Linked DNA regions of Homo sapiens: region 2 is linked to region 1. The links are contacts of gene promoters, found by promoter capture Hi-C in blood cells and fetal thymus (Javierre and others, 2016). All regions are on one chromosome and are shown on one strand. The core of a region is centred on a gene start or on the middle of the fragment in contact, and the rest is flanking DNA. Distances in the headings are between cores, read along the strand shown.

The links. Contacts are between HindIII fragments. The CHiCAGO score rates a contact against its expected background, and 5 or more counts as called.
Region 2: a fragment that was not itself captured here is called in contact with the fragment with the promoter of EDNRB in region 1 in 1 of 17 cell types (M1 macrophages); the score reaches 6.4 in M1 macrophages.

Annotation. Positions count from the first base shown.
Region 1 is chr13:77,915,473-77,922,340 of GRCh38, reverse strand. EDNRB (endothelin receptor type B) reads left to right here and starts at 3,510. Exons shown (of 7, transcript NM_001122659.3): 1 at 3,510-4,250. The coding sequence starts at 3,768. RefSeq lists a cis regulatory region at 3,144-3,153 and promoters at 3,405-3,519, 2,509-3,581. The HindIII fragment of the contact is 2,812 bases long and covers 1,513-4,324 here.
Region 2 is chr13:78,080,924-78,087,415 of GRCh38, reverse strand. The region is part of intron 1 of OBI1-AS1 (OBI1 antisense RNA 1); the gene reads right to left. Among named protein-coding and RNA genes, the nearest start is that of OBI1-AS1, 29 kb to the right of the region's middle. The HindIII fragment of the contact is 1,415 bases long and covers 2,703-4,117 here.

The DNA.
Region 1 (6,868 bases), core at 2,261-4,760:
AGAAATGAATTCCGAATTGCATTAAACCCTGTCTTCAGGAACTTCTAGATAAAGCATTTAAAGGAAATACTGGGACATTGTCTATCTTCAACTTTCTAACTTTGAGAAGTGATCTTAGCCAATCTGGAATTTTGATAGATTTCCTAGACACTTCATAAACGTTTAAAATAAGCAACTTTGTAAAAGACTCCACATTTACCTAGCCAAAAAAAAAAAATCCTCTCATAAATGCAAAATTAGTTCACAAGTTTGCAGGTAGGAATTCTTAAAATTTGATACAACTTTTTGCTCATATATAGAAGTGAAATTTACATAGTAGTTAGTTGCTAGTGAATTCATAAATAAAATTTATCGATAACAGATTTTAAGTAATAAGATGAAAAAAAAACTATATCCATAGCAGTACTGCTCAAGGCATGAGTAATGAAAGTAACATTAAAAAAAAATATTGGCCTAGAATCTGTTTCCACTTTTCTGCACTTTAAGACACTCCTACAGAGGCAGTTTGTCAGTCGGACTGATTTATTGGAGCAAGAAGTAACTTTAATCCTTTTCTTCCATTTTACAAAAGGGGAAACTGACACCCAGTCATTCATGAAGATCAATGAACAATTCTTTACATTTCACATGGTTGTCTTTACATGTTAAGGTGAAATATTTAAGGTTAAACTTCAATTGCATATTACTGATGTCTAGAACACTGTTTCCCCAAAATAAGAAAAAAATTTGCTTAGGCTTTCTGCAATTACAATAATAAAAAGCATAGTCTGTGTAACCATTTAGACATGCATTCAAATCCTAGCTCCAAATCCTGGTCCCACAACTAACTAGCCACATGACCTTAAGTGAATTACTGAGACTCAGTTTCACTGCCTATAACATCATAGAAAATAATACAGAGCTGGAAGACAAACATCAGAGAATCAATGAGGTACTGTGAAAAGGTGTCTAATGCAGGTGGTAGACCCTGTAAGGAGTAGCTGATACTGTGTTTTAAATTCCAAATGAGGAATGTGTATATTTACCTTAAAATTGTTTGGCCTTATTCTTGAGCCCAATGACCAGTTAATAAAGTATAACTGAATACTTTAAAATATCATTATCAATTTATAAAAAATATTTCTTAAGCTCATTTTGTGGCAGGTAGTGGGATGGTGCAGAAAGAACATATAACTCATTCAAGTCCCTGTCCTGTAAAAGAAATTAAGTCACACGAAATCAATAGTGACCCATAGATGTCTCTTATGTGATCAAGTGCTTGCTAAGTTGTGGTTAACAGTCCAAAAGTGCTCCAAGAAAAGTAAAGAGATAGACCTCAGTGAGGATTAGAGCAGACTTCCAGGACTCAGTGGAGGAAATTTGAATGGAGATGGAGATGATGAGAAGGCCAGTGGGGAGAGAGAAAAGTCACCCCACAGGAGCCATAGGCATGAACCCAACAAAGCTTGTATAGGAAGGGCAGATCCAACACTGGGTGGAGTCAACTAAGCAAAATATTCATATTCCAAAGCTTCCATATAATTCCTTATTCAGACAACATTGTATATTGTTACTTGGCTCAGCAATTGAATGTTGACCTCGTTCTTACGAGACAGGGAGGATAAGGACTGCAATTCAAAATAGCCAGATTTGGAATTAGCACTCACAACCCTAGACCATATTTCTCATTCCTTTAGCCTTACTCCGTAACCATGTTCCTAACCACATTTCACACTTAAAGTTCACCTTTTTAAATAGAAATTGATTTTCTACTTCCACTGTCCCAGAAAGCATTGCCTAAGAGCCAAAAATCCAAGGTTCTTGTCCCATCTATTCCATTAACTAACATGAAGCAAAAAACGAGCCTCCTGTCTCTGGGTGAAACTGCTACATGGAATGGGTGCTTCTGGGTTTGAAGTTCCACAGATCCAGTAGGGATTTTGCTGATTGGAGGACGGCACAGTACTCTCCAGTGCATCTCCAAGCCTGACTTCCTGACCTCTTTTATACAATCTCTGGGCAAAACTACCAGTCGCTGTTATTTTCCTCTCTGCGGTAAACATGGAGCTCAAGAATGGATAGAAAGACCTTATTGTATTGCTCTACCTGGTAAATAAATATCATGTTGAATTTGCATGGCAGCTTTCTGATTATTTTCATGTCTCCGATAAGCATCAAGTCTGTCATAGGTACAGTATAAAAATGCCTGAGATTGCCTAACACCGATACTGTGGCAGGAAGAGAGGAGAAGAGCTGTACTGGGGAAAATGAGGAGTACTTGTAATCCTCTCTCGGGGCAGTGAGAGGGCCTGGGAAGAAAAGATCGAGCTGTTCCGTGTTGGGGTTAATGTTGGCTTGAAATGAAACTTCAGGGCAAAATGAAGCAGAGCAAAGAGCAGCGCCCACAAACCAACCTTAAATATCACAGCGGCGGAACATTTACCTGAAAGAAAAGTGACACTTGGCATTAAAAGTTCAATTATCACGTTCAGTGCAGAGCCTTGTTCTAGTCTGGAGCTGCCGGGTGTCACATGGTGCGTGATAACTTGCCCTTGATTTGGGTTCATTTGAAGAGCGTAGAACTCTAACAAATAAACAGCCTTTTGGGACCTGTCCCCGGACGAGGACTGCCCCCCTCCCTCGGGCAACTACTACTGATGCTGTCCAGGCATCGCCCAAGGGGAAAGGTTGCAGCGGGGTCGGAAGGCGCGGGAGGAGTCTGGCGGTGATTGATGGGAAGGGATGAATGAATAAAAGTACTTGTCTGATGGCAGCAGAGACCCCGAGCAAACGGTGGAGGCTACACTGTCTGGCATTCTCGCAGCGTTTCGTCAGAGCCGGACCCGCCTGCAGCTCAAGGGAGGCGTGCTCCTCTCCCAGAGCAGGCTGGAACCCAGCTGGGTTCCGCCTCCCGGGAAGGTGGTCTCCATTCGTCGCTCTGCATCTGGTTTGTCAGATCCGAGAGGTAAACATTCGGGCTTGGTGTTGAATTAAAATCATTGATTGAACCTTATTCTGGGGCTTCGGTTTGGCTTACTAGTTTGGGATTTTAAAAAAATAAAAATTAAGCCTATAGAGAGGGCAAATTAAAATTAGGTTGGGTAAAGGAAGGAGCGCGAGTGTTTGAAGCCGTTTGGAGGGAACAGCGGTTTCCAAGTTCCTGCTGACTTGAGAAGTCTCTGCGGGTTTCCGAATCTCCGGCGCACTCCTGGGCGCGCTGCGGGAGCTGTAGCTCAGCCAGCCAGGGAGTAGCGGCTTTCATCCGCCGGGAGGAGTCTTTCGAGTTCAATCGCGGGGTATAGAGGTTCCCCTGCGGGGCAAAATGCAGAGCTTGACACAAGCCCTTGGCCTCTAGGTGCCTTAATTCCGCGGTTCCCACGCACGCTTAACTAAGACGTGTCTGTATTCCTCCCGTTACGTGAAAGAGTTCGGAGCTTTGCCTGGGACCCCCATCATTCCCTCCCTGGCACACCCCTTCCAGAACGCCCCGCCCCACTGCATATTATTTACCCCTCCTGGCCACGCGGGGGAAGAAAAACAGCTGAGAGGGCATCAGGAAGGAGTTTCGACCCGCGCTGGCGAGTCATGAGCGCCAAGTTTCCCACTGGCGCGCAAACTTGAGTTACTTTTGAGCGTGGATACTGGCGAAGAGGCTGCGGGCGGTATTAGCGTTTGCAGCGACTTGGCTCGGGCAGCTGACCCAAGTGTCCTGTCTTCCTTCCTCTGCTTGTCTCTAGGCTCTGAAACTGCGGAGCGGCCACCGGACGCCTTCTGGAGCAGGTAGCAGCATGCAGCCGCCTCCAAGTCTGTGCGGACGCGCCCTGGTTGCGCTGGTTCTTGCCTGCGGCCTGTCGCGGATCTGGGGAGAGGAGAGAGGCTTCCCGCCTGACAGGGCCACTCCGCTTTTGCAAACCGCAGAGATAATGACGCCACCCACTAAGACCTTATGGCCCAAGGGTTCCAACGCCAGTCTGGCGCGGTCGTTGGCACCTGCGGAGGTGCCTAAAGGAGACAGGACGGCAGGATCTCCGCCACGCACCATCTCCCCTCCCCCGTGCCAAGGACCCATCGAGATCAAGGAGACTTTCAAATACATCAACACGGTTGTGTCCTGCCTTGTGTTCGTGCTGGGGATCATCGGGAACTCCACACTTCTGAGAATTATCTACAAGAACAAGTGCATGCGAAACGGTCCCAATATCTTGATCGCCAGCTTGGCTCTGGGAGACCTGCTGCACATCGTCATTGACATCCCTATCAATGTCTACAAGGTAAAGGGCGCCTGCTGAAATCATGGTGGGCTTGAGGAAGGGGGCCTGGTTGGAGACGGGGAGATGAGAAAGCTTGTAGAGGGAGCTTCCCTTTAGCTCCCTCTTAAGGTTCTGCCCCTCCTAAAAGTCAGTAATCTTTGGAACCAAATTCCATTTGGTTCTGTCCACTCATAAAAGTCAGTAACCATTGGAATAAAATTCCATTCAGGTCTTCAGTAGACCTCTGCTAAGCTTAGGACAAGCGTAGTCCCCAGTCTAGCAATGTTAGTATCACTTTGGGAACTTGGTGCACATGAAGATTTTTCTGGCCTCACCCCAGACCTACTGAATCAGAAACTCTGGAGTGGAGCACAGTAATTTGTATTTTAACAAGCCCTTTATGTGATTATGATGAACTGTAAAGTTTGAGAACCACTAGTCCTGAAGGATCTAGTCCCTAAGTGCACCTAATGGGGTACATCCTCTAGTCAAAAGTGTGTGGTCCATGGACAGTCAGCATCAATATTACCTGAGAGTTTGTTAGGAATGCAAGGCTACCTCAGACTTACTAAGTTAGAATCTGCATCTTAAGATCTTCATGTGATTGATATGCCCACTAACTTTGGGAAGGACTGTTTTGGAAGACTTTGAAAGTAGCAGGTACAAAGTAGGTATTTAGGAAATAAATGGCCTGGAAAAAAGAGATCCAGACTGGTGAGTAGGAAAAACACAGTTCACCTGCTGTGACGGACTGTAGCTACTTTGTATTAAATATCTACAGTGGGCCAAGGACTGGGTGAGATGTGTTACTTCCATTATTCCTTCCAGCAGCCCACAAGTAGATATTACAATTAGTTTACAGATGACTGGTAGGATGATCAAAGTAAATGAATTAGAGGTGGAGCTGGGGATCAGACCCAATCTGTCAGGTTCCAAAGTGCAAGCTATATGATGGCACCCCATCAATTATTTCATGGACAAGACCAAGGAGCACTCAAAATCTGTAAGGGTTTCGGTAGTTAACATTATTGTGTGATTACCATGGGCGTCAGTAGAAACACACAAAGAGCCAGGTTGCTCCAGGTTGCTTTGGAACTCCAGACACATCCCAGCACCTCTGGGCCTCAGTTTCCTCAATTCCACAATAAGGCTGCCAGTGCCCACTTACTGAGGCTTTATGGTGTTAAAAAAAAAAAAGCAGTCTAAATAAAACAGTTGGAAAATTTCAAAGACATATGAAAATATTTAAAACTTTCCCAGCAGCAGCAGCAGCAGCAGCAATAGAAAGTTGCACATAAAAACACAATCACAGTGTAAGGAAATGGAATTGTGCTTTGCAGATTTGCCTATAGCTAGCCCTGACTTCAGTACTTCAGTACAAGGGGAAAAAAATGGAATGTAAAGTTGGGAAATGTTGTAGGGAATGCTTTGACCTATTGGCAGGAGTAGTTACCATAAGGCATGCCTGTAAATTTCCCTTCATAAATCTCTAAAAATCCTAACCCAATAGCTATATTTTAAGGGGAATTCCGAACATTTCTGAGGTTTAGCGGTGAGAGTGGATTAGGATATAGTTTTCTCTAAAGGGAATCACCCCCGGAAATGGGGGAATCGATTGAAGAAATCCTAAAATCCTGTATGGCAATTGATTCTGATGAACTGTGAGGATTTACTTGGTAAGAGCTGAAATTGAATCTCTAAATGCAGCCACAACTCCATGAGGGCCAGAAGTGACCCTTTTACTTCTTAAGGCGTCCCACAAACTAAATCTTCCCATTCTAATTTGGCAAAGGAATTTCAATTCAATTCATCAAAACCGAATTGAGAACTTTTCAGTACAAGGTGTTGTGATAAATTTAAAATAAATCTAACAAGATCTCTTCCCAAAGGGAGATTAAAATCTAGTTTTGCTAGGTTGGCACAGGATTTTATGAAAGTTCTGTTTAGGGGGTCAGGAAACCCCACATGTCCAGCCCAGTTAGAAACCTTTCTAAATCAGACAGTAGCTGAAGTGCTGTGTAGAAGGTGGGATTGAGAACATTTTTTTAGTTCTGGTGTGCTGCCTCCAGGACAGATATAAATCAGCTCTTCCAGAACCATCTTATTTCCTCTGTCTGGTTAAATGAGTATTTGTAATAAACTAGAGAATTTCTGACTCCCCAAGAGGTCATACAGTTTCCCTTTCATTTCAAACTCCCATATGATTTCCCTAGGAAGTTACATCCTTTTCCCTGAAGCCATCCAGTCTTAACATGACTGTGTTTTTACTTCTGAAATAAGCCAATGAGTCATTATAAATCTGTCCATCCATTAATCTACATGGGTCACAAACACATTCATCACATTACGTCCCATCACTAAGGTCATCATTATTGAATCCTACCTTGTGGCCTTAGGTTTAGCTTGAGACACAATATCATAATAATGGCTACCAGTTAATGATGCACTAGGCACTTGGTTTATTTCATTAAGTCACTATAACAACCCTGTAGAGGAGGTATCGTTATCATTCCTGCTTTAGATCTAGGCAAACTACTTGTCAGAGAGGTGAAGAAGTAACTTGCCTAATGTCATACCACTACAAAGTAATGAAACTGGGGCTTGAAAGCAGATCATCCAGCCCAAGACCCTGTGGTCCA
Region 2 (6,492 bases), core at 2,161-4,660, 170 kb before region 1:
ATTAACTCTAATACAGTGTAAATATAATAAAATTACACAATAAAACTATTTGTTGAGAGCATTATATGTATAAGCTATTTTAATAAGTGTTTCTCATTAGTTAACATACTTGAGCTCCCCAAATCGTAAGAAATATGCACTCCTAGTAATCCTGTTTTCCAGATGGGGATACTGAGGCTTAGAGTTAAATGAACAAAGGTCAGAAAAGTCAGAGGTAGGATCTGAATCGAAGAGAGTTTGTTGTGATATGAACAAACTGCCACAAGAAGCAAGAATAGTAAAAAGAGAAAATAATAGGATCCAGAATCTAAATATACAGATTTGAGTTTAAATTGTGTCTTTGTTTTTAACTAGCTGCATGGACTGAGTAAATCCTCAAACATGTCTTTCCAAGCCTTACTGTCTATAATTTTGAAGTGGTGGTTATATTCATCGTTATATAGGGCTATTGTGGGGCTTATATGGTTATTTATAACCAACCAAGTTTAGCATACTACACATGGCCCCTCCCCCAAAATTATAATCATTTTTCTTTTAAAAATGGTCTTACATCAGTTAGAAATGGAAATAATCTCAAAATAACAGTGGCTCAAACACTCAAATGGTCATTTTCTTACAGAAAAGAAGACAAGGGTTAGGAAGTCCAGGATTGGTGTGGCAGCTCCATGAAGTCACTAGATGCCCAGACTCCTCTATCTTTCTCCTCTGCCATTTTTGGTGTGTTGTTTCCATACTCAAGATAACCACATGTTCTAGGGTGGATGCTGGAGTTTCAACCATCTCACCCACATTCCAGAGAGCAAAAAGAATAGAAGTCAAAATGAGTTTGTTTCTAAGTGTCTTTTAAAGGGCCTTCTTCAAGTCTCTCACAACACATCTACCCTCACAGGTCTAAATGGTTAGGTACAACAGCCCTGAGCAGCCTTGGAATTGTTATCTTTATTCCAAGTGGCCCTATGGCCAGCTAAAAATTGGCATTCTATTAGTAAGGTGGAAGATAAGGAGTACTGGATTGGCAATTGGTACTCTGTATCATGACTTTGATAAGAACATGTTAACCAAAGATAAAATAAAAGATTGAGAAAAGAAAACACTAGATCCAATTATTTCTTTCTTATATGAGAACACACTAACACACCCTCATGCAAAGAAAAGAGTGTGCTATCTTATAGTCATGGAAAATAGAGAAGTCACGGAGCCTGACATTGACCTTTGTATAAACAAATTATAACACCTGCCCCCCAAAGATGGCATCAGAGATAGAATTTCCTCATGGAATACGATAGTTGACATTCCCACAACATTGACTAAGTGAATTGGGTGACAGTTAGTTTTGGAGTATACTTTTTAAGCAATTACAGAAAAGAAAGTAAAATGAGAGTGAGTCAGCAGGTTTTCAGTGGCCAACTCGGGTGGAATTAAACACAAAAAGGAGAAAACTTCTGCATTCTATTTGCTGTAGTTAATTGTTTTCTCACTCTTAACACTCTTGCCTGTTCAACCTAGGTGTTGCATGCTCTAATAAAATTGAAAAATAAGCTGACACGTTCACCTTAAGGAAAAGGGGAAGGGAGGTGGGAAGGAGAGGGAAAGGAAGGGAAATGATCATTTGCAGGCATTATCATTCAAGGCTTTCAACTAAGCCTCTTCCCTGGGAAGCATCAGAGGTCATTTCAGGGAGCCGCTACAGGGGGAACACACAGGACAGGAAGGTCTGCGTGGAAGTCTCACTTAGCCTACAATCCACCACTTCCATTCTCACCCCCACCTCCCAACCTTTGCGGCCGCCTTGGCCACTGCAAGGAAATAGGGTGTTCTCTACATAAAGGGGTTCTCAAAACTCAGAGATTCTGGCTGACAGTACTGGGCTCATGTCTGAACTCCATGACAGGCTGGCTGTGCAGCTTTTTGGCACAGTTAGTTATACATTTTAAGCCTTGTTCTAATCATCTGTAAAGCAGGGATGTTCATATCTGTAGTACTTGCCTCATGGAGTTGTTCTGAGGAGTAAGAGCTTGGTAGAGTACTTCATAATTAGCTAACACGCAATAAATATTAGCTATTCTGCACTTTGGAGTCAGCTTGGTGTACCATGGAATCTATGTCCTAGCTAAGCAAATTAACCTGCTAGGTCTCAGTTTCCTGAGGATCTGGCACCTTACAGGTTCTCAATAAAAATGTTAAGTGTTTTGTGATAATTATTACATGTATTTTATTTTGAAATATAAAATACATATGTAAAGCAAAATGAAAAATTATCTATATATAATATTTATAAAGCCAAATGCTTTATCTTTCTTCTTGTGTACAGAGAACTACCAATTGCAATAGAATTATTAAAACAGCCTGAGAGCTTTTTAAATTTATATTTTGTCTTTTGATTGTTCTGTTTTCTCTGTATTATCCAAAGAAAGGCAATTGAATTTTTTTCATTATGAGTTCTGAAAGTTTTCTGTTACTTATTATTTAACTGCCAGTGTACTTTATTGCAATATGCCAGTGAACTCACTTGATATACATCCTTCTGGCCTTCATCCCCTCTCAAGTGATGATATAATAAGATATATTATTTAGAGGGCAGATATAGATTTGACTTAGTCATAAACCAGTGTAACATAAGGTTCCTGACTTTTAGATCTGACACAAAATGCTCTCTTTTAGTGGTAGTACAGAATGTTGAAGTAAGGCTGGATATGTAAGCTTACATTTTTATTTCATTAGAGAATGCAAAACTCATTGTATTTAACTGACAGTCTCAAAACTTCTCTGCCAAATCTTAAAGTCTCTAGACTTCTGAATTCCAGAAATGAGTTCACTGACCTAAATATTTGGAAAGGGAGGAAAATGCGTTTTCCCAAAAAGGAAATAAATCTACCAAAGTAAAATTAGGGAGGGAGAGACATTCTCCTTGGAATAAGCATGTTTGGATTTATATACAGTGCATTAGTAGATGATGTATTTTGGTGCATTGTGATAATCAGAAAAGTTACAGTATGTCCAGGACTCTGTACACAATAGTGTTAAGCAGTTGTTTCTAGGAACAAGGTCATTTAGCTAAGTGGTGTTGGCTATTGATACCACTGCTTTTTTTTTCATGTGGGCAAAGCATCAACTGTTTCAAGACCAATGGCACATTTTCATGATAAAGAGCTAGGTATTAGGGAATTGTTTGAATTATTTTGCAGATTAATTGTAAATCCAGAGTTTGATAACTTAGTCAATACCAGGAAAAGTCTACTATATTTAGGATTGGGGTTTCAAGGTAAGACTCTTTTCTACGCATTAAGTCTGAAAACCTGTAGCCACCAAGTGACAGGTGATATCTTCCAGTAGTGCTACTTTCTCACTACTGTTTTAGGTTACCTCGACACAAGAAGATATTGTTCCTATAGCTTCAGCTCCAAAATAATATGTGCTAGAATTACTGGGATGCAAGTAATACTCACATCCCATAGACCTCTTCAACCTCACTATTTAATAGACATTCAGAATATAAGCATTGCAAATGGAACACAGTAACCTGAAACATATCAGCTTTGGTTTTCAAATCTCAATACTATCGCTGATAATGGGTTTTTACCATTCCCTAACCAAGCACTTGCTTCCTTTCCCCAAGAAAGATATTCCGAGTTTATACAAATAAATACTGTGACATTACTGGTATAATAGAATAAACACTAGGTTTGAGTTAAACATGTCAGGTCGAATTCTGCTTTTAGCTATTACAGGATTTGTAACCTTGGGTTAGGCTTTTAGTTTCAGTTCTTTGTTGATTAATACATTTATTCATTGAATGATTAATACATTTATTCATTGAATGATTAATACACTCCAATGACTGCTCTAGGCAGTAAAGAAGATAAGAAACAAATTCTTGCTCCTTTAGAGCTTATAACTCCAAAGAAAGGAAGACAGTTAAGAAATACAACATAAAGTTGTGATAAATTCCACGAGTAAAAATAAGGCATTGAAACATTGGACTTAAACTTTATTTAGACCAAATTGACCTAACAGATATATGCAGAATATTCTATTCAACAGCAACAGAATACACATTCTTCTCAAGTGTACATAAGACATTCTCCAGGATAGGTTATGTTAGGCCACAAAACAAGCTTAACAAATCTAAGAAAGTTGAAATCATATCAATTATCTTTTCCAATCACAAGGGGATAAAACTGAAAATCAGTAACAGGAAGAAATTTGAGAAGTTCACAAATATAAGAAAATAAACAACATGTTCCTAAACAACCAATGAATCAATGAAGAAGTTAGAAGAAAAATGTAAAGTATCTTGAAACAAATGAATATAGAAACATGCTAAAACTTAAGAGATGCAGCAAAAACAGTTCTTAGAGGGAAGTTTATAACAATATATGCCTACATCAAAAAAGAAAAAGATCCAAAATAAAGAGCCTAATGTCACCCTCAAGGAACTAGAAAAACAAGGGCAAACTAAGCCCAAAGTTAGCAGAAGAAAGGAAATAATAAAGACCAGAGCAGAAATAAATTAAATAGACTAGAAAAGCAACAGAAAGAACAACTAACAGGTGATATTTTTGAAAAGATTAAGTCAACAAATCTTTAGTTAGACTACGAAAAAAGATACAAGACTAATAAAATCAGAAATGAAAAAGGAGATATTGCAACTGATATCACAGAGACACAAAGAATCATAAGACTACTATAAACAATTACATGCCAACAAGTTCAATAACCTAGAAGAAATCAATATATTCCTAGATACGTTAAGACCTATGAAGACTGAATCATGAAGAAATAGAAAACCTGAACAGACCAATAAAGATTAAAGAGATTGAATCAGTAAAAAAGAAGCCTCCCACTATAAAAAAAAAAAAAAGCACAGGACCTGAAGCCTTCATGTTTAATTCTACTAAATATTTAAAGAAGAACTAATATCAATTCTTCTCAAATGCCTCCAAAAAATTGAAGAAGTAATACTTCCATCTTCATTTTAAGAGACTAGTATTACCCTGATGCCAAATAGAAACAAATACACTGTAATAAAAGAAAATTACAGGCCAATATCCCTGATGGATATAGATGCAAAAATCCATACCAGAATGGTAACAAACTGAACTCAACTACATACTAAAAGAATTATTTACCATGATCAAGTGGGATTTTTCCAAGGAATTCAAGGATGGTTCAACATACACAAATATATAAATATACCACACTAACAGCATGAAAAACAAAAACCATATGAAAAACAAAAACCATATGATCATCTCAATCGATGCACAGAAATATTTTTTTCTTCTTTTTTTTATTATACTTTAAGTTCTAGGGTACATGTTCACAACATGCAGTTTTGTTACATAGGTATACATGTGTCATGTTGGTTTGCTGTACCCATTAGCTCGTCATTTACATTAGGCATTTCTCCTAATGCTATCTCTCCCCCTGTCCCCCACCCCATGACAGGCTCCAGGGTGTGATGTTCCCCGCCCTGTGTCCAAGTGTTCTCATTGTTCAATTCCCACCTATCAGTGAGAACATGCAGTGTTTGGTTTTCTGTCCTTGTGATAGTTTGCTCAGAATGATGGTTTCCAGCTGCATCCATGTCCCTGCAAAGGACATGAACTCATCCTTTTTTATGGCTGCATAGCATTCCATGGTGTATATGGATACACAGAAATATTTTACAAAATTTAACCTCCTTTAAATTTAAAAAACTCTCAACAAATTAGATATAGAAGAAATGTGCCTTAACACAATAAAGATCATATATGTCAAGCCCACAGCAAATATTATACTCAATGGTGAAAAGCGGAAAGCTTTTCTTCTAAGACCAGAAAAATACAAGATGCCACTCTTGCCACTTCTATTCAATATGGTACTGGAAGTCCTAGCCAGAACAATTAAGGCAAGGGAAAGAAATACAATGCATTTAAATTGGAAAAGAAGAAGTTAAATTGTCTGTTTGCAGACAACATGATCTTATATACAGAAACCTAAGGACTCTACTAAAAAAAAAAACTGTTAGAACTAATAAATGAATTCAGTAGAGTTGTGAGATATATAAAATCAACATACAAAAATCAATAGCATTGCTATACACCAACAATGAACTACCCAAAAAGGAAATAAAGAAAACAATCCCATTTATAATAGCTACAAAAATAAAATAAAATACTTAAGAATACCTTTAACTAATGTTAAATGTGAAAGACCTTACACTGTAAAACACTGATGAAGGGAATTGAAGAAGACACAAATAAATGGAAAGATATACCATGTTCACAAATTAGAAAAATTAATGTTATTAAAATGTGCTACTACCTAAAGTAACCTACACAGTCAATACATTTCCTATCAAAATTTTAAAGACATGTTTCTGAAATAGAAAAGGCCATTCTAAAATTTGTATGAAGTCCCCCAAAAACCTGTAAATAGGCAAATCAATCTCCAGCAAAGAGAACAAAGCTGAAGGTATCACAGTACCTAATGTCAAAATATACTACAAAG